Regions from separate parts of the Homo sapiens genome. Here region 1 is linked to region 2. Evidence: promoter capture Hi-C in 16 types of primary human blood cells and fetal thymus (Javierre and others, 2016). All regions are on one chromosome and are shown on one strand. Each heading gives the region's core, a stretch centred on a gene start or on the middle of the fragment in contact. The rest is flanking DNA. Distances are from core to core; before and after follow the strand shown. Region 1 overlaps SPIRE1 (spire type actin nucleation factor 1). Region 2 holds the start of PRELID3A (PRELI domain containing 3A).

The links. Contacts are between HindIII fragments. The CHiCAGO score rates a contact against its expected background, and 5 or more counts as called.
Region 1: a contact is called between a fragment that was not itself captured here and the fragment with the promoter of PRELID3A in region 2, in 4 of 17 cell types (erythroblasts, endothelial precursors, megakaryocytes and 1 more). The highest score is 7.2, in erythroblasts.

What each region holds. Positions count from the first base shown.
Region 1 is chr18:12,529,134-12,533,053 of GRCh38, reverse strand. The region is part of intron 4 of SPIRE1 (spire type actin nucleation factor 1); the gene reads left to right. Among named protein-coding and RNA genes, the nearest start is that of PRELID3A, 120 kb to the right of the region's middle. The HindIII fragment of the contact is 453 bases long and covers 2,259-2,711 here.
Region 2 is chr18:12,406,596-12,410,661 of GRCh38, reverse strand. PRELID3A (PRELI domain containing 3A) reads right to left here and starts at 2,733. Exons shown (of 7, transcript NM_001142405.2): 1 at 2,655-2,733. The coding sequence starts at 2,686. RefSeq lists enhancers at 1,906-2,155, 2,013-2,672, 2,673-3,334 and a silencer at 2,356-2,935. The HindIII fragment of the contact is 9,540 bases long and covers 823-4,066 here.

The DNA of each region.
Region 1 (3,920 bases), core at 1,236-3,735, 120 kb before region 2:
CTGACAACACTTGTTCCCCTAAGGGTAGTGCTTTCTCTTGCTTTCCTCCTGCGGGAAGCCGATCTCTCCTCTACATCTCCCTGTTTCGATTGAGGTGGGTTTGCTAATATTCTGTCTCTCCTCTGCTGCCTGCCAGTAATCAGCCTTCATCCTTGTTGAAACACCCTTCTTCCTTTGAAGCTCCTGTCATCACTTCTCTCATCTTGAGTGACTTCCTAGACAAAGAAAGCACATAAATTGCCTATCAACACTCAGGTTTCAGGAATGTAAGTTTCTTTCACCTCTGCAATGTATAAGGTTTTCTTGAAATGATAGAACATTTTTATACATGTTAGTTTATGTATGTAAATGGTTTCAGCCTTTTCTCAAAAATACTGTTTTCACACTAATAAATACTATTTGTTAATTTGACTTTTTTCGGAAGATCCCAAAATACTTAATATATTTTAAGAATCATTCTTTATACCTATGAGTTAGTGTGTACCAAGTGGAATTTTTGAAACAATAGACTGATTCAACGAAATTAAAAATTGAGTATCAACAATTTTTCAAACTACCTTATATCTGTGTATATGTGTGTGCATGAATGCATATAAATTGGGGTGGAAGCATAGTGTCAGAACACTTGAGCTCAGTTACTGATAATGTGTCTGATTTGATAGTCCAAAAGTACTTTAATTATACTAAATTTCTTATATGGCAAATTGGCAATTTATTAAAATATAAAATCTACCATCTGTTTTCCAATGTTATACTTGTTCTGTAAAGTGTTAAGTGCATTTACTGAACCTGGCTACTTTATAAAGCACAGTATCTGGTTCATCATCTATTTATTTAGAAAGCAAATTTGTTTATATTCTAATCCCTTTCATGATGTGATGATTTTCTTCTTAAACAACCAATGAACTCCTTTAAGGTCATTCTTTTAATGATAAAGATTTGGGTAGGCCTGCTGTTACTTTGTCTCTTAAGCAATGTGATATCCTTGAAAATAAGTACACATTACTGTGTCTCCTAAGAAATTTGATATCCTTGTAAGTTAAGTATAGCTGGAGGCACTGTCTAAGCAATCCATCGAGTGCATCAGGTTGTATGAAAGAAGAGCCACCCTGCCCTGCTGCCAGTGACACCACCATATTCCAGAGCCATACTGCAGGGGTAGCTGGTGAGCCTGTGCTGTGCAGAGGGGGCAGTTTCAATTGTAAAATTTTTTATTGGAGAAAATGAAATTATATTAATGGTAGTATCCTTTAATCTATTGTGGTCCAGGTAATTTTTTGATCATCAGTCCCCAGTTTTGTTATTGTTAAATAAAATTATTTATCATTACCTAAAACTTTAACCCCTGCTACTTTACTGTCATATTCATACAGCTCCTTTATAAAATGCCTTCTCTTCCTTACTCCATTTGATCCTTGTAACAATCCTGTGACTCTTTGCAAATTAGTAAACTGAGGCTTAGAGAGATTAGAGATTCACATAGAAGTAAGTTCTCAGTGCTGCTGATAACAGCATTTTCATCCTCATCATACCCTTCAGTCCGGCAAAGGTGTTCCACTACATAGAAGTTATTGCTATTTTCCTCTAAGAGTGTCACATAAAATGCATTATTAGATGAAACTAAAGAGAGAGTTCTGAAGAAAATGGAGGTAGATACTTTGATGTAGGTTTCTGAGCAGTTCTGGAGAGAGAATATGTGAGTCAGAAAGACTAAGATTTGGCTTTGGAGAGAAGAGAGTTTATGAGAGAATGTGTGGGCATGCACATGCTGGTGTTAGGGGATGATGGTCCTGCATATGCACATAAATGGGATGGGGGGGTACCATGTAAAGTTGAGGTATGAAATAAGAGGGAGGCCAGGCACAGTGGCTCATGCCTGTAATCACAGCACTCTGGGAGCCCAAGGCAGGAGGATCACTTGAAGCCAGGAGTTCAAGACCAGCCTGGCCAACAAGGCAAGACCCTATCTATAAAATAAACAAATAAATAAAGAGGGAGATGTGAAATGAGAAAAGATAGAGTATCATAGAAGTGTCAAAGACTGAGATAAAATAATTTTAAGACTAGAAAGTCAGTTGATTTTTTTCTGATACGTTCCTAGCATGCTCTAGCCATCATTGCCTCCACGTTGAGAGTGTGCAGTATGCTCACCAAATTCTCCAGTAATACACTGTTTCATAGTAGGGGTATAATGATATTATAGTAGAAACTTGATGTATCATAAGAGTACACTGTTTTAAAAGAATTTTTTGAAAGCTTTCTTTAAAGCAAATAACTCATTTTTTATTTATTTCATAATTTGAAATATTTATATTACCACTGACCTTTGTAAAAGCCCCTTTATTGGTGAATCATACCATTCATTATTCATGTAACTTCTTAAAATCAAATAGCATTTGCAAGACTTCTGTTTACTCATCTTTAAAAATGGGGAGGAAGGCCTGGCGCTCAGTGGCTCACTTCTGTAATCCCAGCACTTTGAGAGGCCGAGACCAGGTGTTTTGAGACCAGCCTGAGAAGCATAGCAAGATCATAGAATCCTGGAATCCTAGCTGCTTGGGAGGCGGAGACAGGAAGATCTTTTGAGCCCGGGAGTTTAAGGCTGCAGTGAACTATGATCTCACCACTGTGCTCCATCCAGCCTTGGTAATAGAGTGAGACCCTGTCTCTAAAAACATAAAAATCGGGGAGGAGGCAAGACATGTTAAGCTTCCGTCTAGTCTTAAAATTTTATGCAGAAAATAAAATTTGCGTGACTAAATTTTTTGTTCTATTTATTCAACAAGCTTTTCCTCATTTTTGTTATTAGTCTTACGTTGTAGGCAAAGTGTATATAGATAAGTAAGTGCATTCCTGGTAGAATTTTCTATGAAATTATTGTATACTATTTTATTTTATATCTTAAATTTGAGATAGATTTTACAGAAAAGCAGTTCAATGCTGTAGATAAATTAATCAAAATTGAGGATGCTGTAGGCCTTTTAAAAACACAGATTTAACTTTTTAAAATTGGTAAGCTAGCTGTAACATTCAATACTGACATTACTACTATATTGATGTCAGTATAGGCTAAAAATAAAATTATTTTCACAATCTACTGGTAGAAAATCCTTGTACAGAATAAATTCGTAATACAGTAACATTAGTCATCAGTGAATGAACAGTGAAAATAATTGTGCATTGTATAGCATGTGTTCATGATATTGCAGCAAGAACTTTATAAGGCATGTAAAATAGGTTTTTAATGTCCTAATCTCTGTTCTCTAGATTATGTACTCAAAGTGATGAAAATTTTCTCTTCCTCTTGCACTTTCTTGTGTCATTCATACACATAAACATCACCCAAATTAAGGTAGAATATTTCAAACATTTTGATCTTTGAGAGATAAGATGTCTAATACAGTTAACTCATCTTGGATTTCTTCAGCAGTAGGCTCTACAGGTGTGGGTTGTCATTTCTGATTATCTGATTATAATGATCTTTGCACTCTTCTCAAGTGTGGCTGTACCTGCGGTGCTTAGTTTCTTGACATATTAAACGCTTCTTATAAGTGTTGTCTTCCTTGACCCTTTCAAGTATGATTTTTTCACTCACACCCTTCATACCTCAGCTGAAAGGACATCTCCTCAGGCCACCCCAGACACCTTTATATATTCAGCACATACTGCCCTTTTTTTTTTTTTTGAGACGGAGTCTTGCTCTGTCGTCTAAGCTGGAGTGCAGTGGCGCAATATCAGCTCACTGCAAGTTCCACCTCCCGGGTTCACACCATTCTCCTGCTTCAGCCTCCAGAGTAGCTGGGACTACAGGCGCCCGCCACCACGTCCGGCTAATTTTTTGTATTTTTAGTAGAGACGGGGTTTCACCATGTTAGCCAGGATGGTCTTGATCTCCTGACCTCGTGGTCCGCCCGCCTCGG
Region 2 (4,066 bases), core at 1,484-3,983:
AACAGTACAACAAACTTTTTTTAAGTATAGAAAGAAAAAGAAAGGTCTATAATCCTCAAAGGAAAAAAATCAGGGGTTTCAATGGACGAAACAAGGGGAAAACTACACAGTAAGTCCAGCCAGGAAGCCAGACTTCCAATTTGTACTGTCATTTGGATGCTATGACACCTCATGGTACCACCTCATGGTACCACATCATTCATAACCCGTCCAGCCACAGGCCAATGACAGCATCCTCGGCCAGCCACATTCCACATTTGTCAGGCTTCATTACGGCCCTTTGCTTTCAAGTTCAAAAGTCTATGGCAGAGAATCAGCACCTAGTCCACAGCAGCTCCAGGGATGACCGGGATTCCTTTGGTGGATAGCTGCCCCTGTCCTGGAAGGACATCTGATCTCCATGTAAGATTCCTCACCCCTTCCGAGCACCTGCTAGGCGCCGGGCCCCGGCGGGGTGCCAGGAATACAAAATGAATGATGGGAGAAATGAAATACTGACACTCTACCACATGGTGAGCCTCAAGAAAATCATGCTAAGTGAAAGCAGACAGACACAAAACACCCCATATTGCAGGATGACATTTACATGCAATGTCCCAACAAGGCAAATTCATAGAAACAGAAAAGATTCCTGGTTGCCTGGGGCAGGGGTGAAAATGGGGTAAAATGTGAAGCTAATGAGCATGGGGCACCTCTGCAGGAGGACAGAAGTGTTCTAAGACTGGACTGTGTGTGTGATGGTCATACTTAGCAAAACTTAATGAATTATACACTTAAAATGTGTATAATTTTATGGTATGTAAAGTATCCTTCGGTAAAGCTTAAAAAAAATAAATGGGAGTTAGCAGCTGCAACAATTTTCAAAAGCATCAACTGTGATTTTTCACAGCTAGCTATTCATTTGTGCTTGTCCACAGACATTTCACAAACCTCTAGGGCAGACCTCGGCCATTCCATGAGAAAACTGAGCCCCAACCACCTGGCACTCCTGGTATGCAATGACTTAACTGTCCACAGCATCCAGACGGCTCAGTGATGCCCCCATCCTTGTTGCTGATGGAAACCCACTTGAGAAACACTGCAAGCCATACAAAAAATTAGATCCCATCAAGTCTAAAGACTTCATGAAAAATAATTTCAGAGGTTTTGAAACCACTTGATATATTTTTATTATAATTTTACATGTTTAAAGTCAGGCCAGTCACGGTGGCTCACACCTATAATCCCAGCACTTTGGGAGGCCGAGGCGGGTGGATCACCTGAGGTCAGGAGCTCGAGACCAGCCTGGCCAACATGGCGAAACCCTGTTTCTACTAAAAATACAAAAATTAGCCGGGCGTGATGGCCCACACCTGTAGTCCCAGCTACTCAGGAGGCTGAGGCACGAGAATCACTTGAACCCAGGAGGGGGAGGTTACAGTGAGCCAAGATCGCGCCATTGCACTCCAACCTGGGTGACCCAGCGAGCCTATGTCTCAAAAAAAAAAAAAAAAAAAAAAAAACCCAGCCTGGGTGACAGAATGAGACTCTGTCTCGAAAAAAATAAATAAAAAGAGTCAAAGGATGACAATTTCCTTCCACGCAGTACTTTTTTTCCCCCCAAAATAAAATATTTAATGCTTAAGTGAGGTCAGATAATTAAAAAATCTTTGTTGCTGTAAATAAACATTAAAGAATAATTTCAGTGTGTCACAGATCACTGACTTAAGGAAAAGATACCACTTAGGTTAGGAGGGCACTTTTTTCTTCTTTTTATTTGCACAATTCTATGGAGTATATGTGCAATTTCGTTACATGCATAAATTTCGTAGTGGTCAAGTCAGGACTTCTAGGGTATGCATTACCCGGGAAGGTGTCTTGCACCCATTAAGCAATTCTCATTATCCTCCCTGCACCCACCCCCTCACCCTTCAGAGTCTCCATCATCTGACGTTCCACTCTCCACATCCATGTGAACACATTCTTAAGCACCCACTTAGGAGTGGGAACATGCGATACTTGTCTTTCTGGGCCTGGCTTCACTTAAGATAATGACCTCCACTTCCATCCGTGTGCCGGGGGAGCATTTTTAAACAGTTCGAGGTTTTCCACGCTAGCTTGGAGGCCTTCCATGCCTACAAGTGAGTTCAGAGCCAGGGCCCCCGAAATGCCTTCTGCCCCTTTAGCTTCCTCCAGAGCTCACAGCCCGCCGTGGGCCCTCCGTGAAACGCGCGGAAGGTTTATGACAATCTCAGCAAAGGCGCCAGCTTGCAGGCCTCTCCCCTGCCCTGCTCCCGACCCCAAGGAGAGCAGCGAGCGCCAGGCCCCCGGCCGCCCCCCCGGCTCCGGCCGCCCCCGCCCCGGCCGCCCCCGCTCCGGCTGCCCCCGCCCTGGCTGTCGACCACCAGCGGGGCCTCTGTGCCTGCAGCCAGGCCCCTGCGCACGCCGGGGGAGAGGCCGTACCCGGCGCAGAGCCTCGCCCAGACCGCGGTCCCGGGGAAGCGCGCGTGCCCTCTCCGGGACGCCGAAGTTGCGGTCTGGGAACGGCCGGCGCGGGGCGGGGATCTCCGCGAGGCCCGCTGTGAGGTCCGGCCTTTCCTGGACCGCTCCAGCCGGGCTCGGGAGCAGGAGCCGGCGTCTGGACGGCCCCACCGCGGCCCTCAGCCCGGCCTCACCCAAACACGTGCTCCGAGCTCCAGATCTTCATTGCCGCCGGCGCAGGGCGCGGGCTCTGCGATCCGGGCCGGGTGCTTCGGGCCGCGCGGCTCCGGGCGCGGCGTGGGCGGGGCCTCGATGGGCGGGGCGCCCTTGGATGCCGCCCACCCCGTCTGGTGGCTAGGCTGGCTGCAGCGGCTAAAAATAGCTCTGCGGGCGCGGCTGTGGCGCAGCCCCAGACCTGCGCTGCTACCCTGGGGTGCGCGATGCGCGCTTGCTGCAGATGCCGCGGGCGTAGGAGGCGACGCTCGTCCTTACTCCCACTGTCCAAATTCTCCCAAGGCCCTGTCCAGCTACGCCGGTTTGTACTGTCGGGGACGTGTGATGAAAAACAAACCTGCCAACCCTCAAAACTCCACTGCAGTTTGGGTCTTGAACAAACATTAAACCAGCATGTGAGGCCGGGCGCGGTGGCTCACGCCTGTAATCCCAGCACTTTGGGAGGCCGAGGCGGGCGGATCACGAGGTCAGGAGATCAAGACCATCCTGGCTAACACGGTGAAACCCCGTCTCTACTAAAAATACAAAAAATTAGCCGGGCGTGGTGGCGGGCGCCTGTAGTACCAGCTGCTCGGGAGGCTGAGGCAGGAGAATGGCGTGAACCCGGGAGGCGGAGCTTGCAGTGAGCCGAGATCCCGCCACTGCACTCCAGCCTGGGCAACAGAGCGAGACTCCGTCTCAAACAAAACAAAACAAAACAAAACAAAACAAAACAAAACCAGCATGTGATGTGCATCACAAGCAATCCGCCAAATAGGCTGCAAAGACAGAAATCTCAGCCTGTATCAAACAGCCGGGAGGATGCAACCTACCCCACGCATGCTCCCGAGGTAAACGAGACAGCCCTCCGGGGAGGGGACTCCACTACACCATTTGTCGCAGAGTTCATCCTAAATTCGCCTGATGATGGAGTGGCCATTGGTAAATGCAGTGGCCATTTGCGTTTGCTAATTGCCTTTATCCAAAGGAAAAATGAATTTTCATACCTTTATGACAGGAGGTAGGTTTACAATTTGAAGCCAGGTGCTCTCTGGTAGCTGGGCTCCTACCCTCCCACAAAACTGGGAGACGGGGATGACATTTCAAAGAGATGACTCCCAAGTCCTTGAGAAAATACATTCTTGAGTTATAAAACTGGGGGGAAATCTTATTTAGCTTTAAAAAAATGTACGTGTATCTCAAAAAGAATTTGTGATTACAACTTGGCAAATCCTCTAAGGAAAAAGAGTCTCCCTTTCGCATAAACTACTTTTTAGCTTTGCAAAGTACCCTGCACTGCCACAAACGAAGTTGAAGTGCACGGAAGTGAGATGCTTGTTCTAAGAAGAGGGTACTCTTCTCCAGGATGAGATAGGGCGAGAGGGCAGGGCCC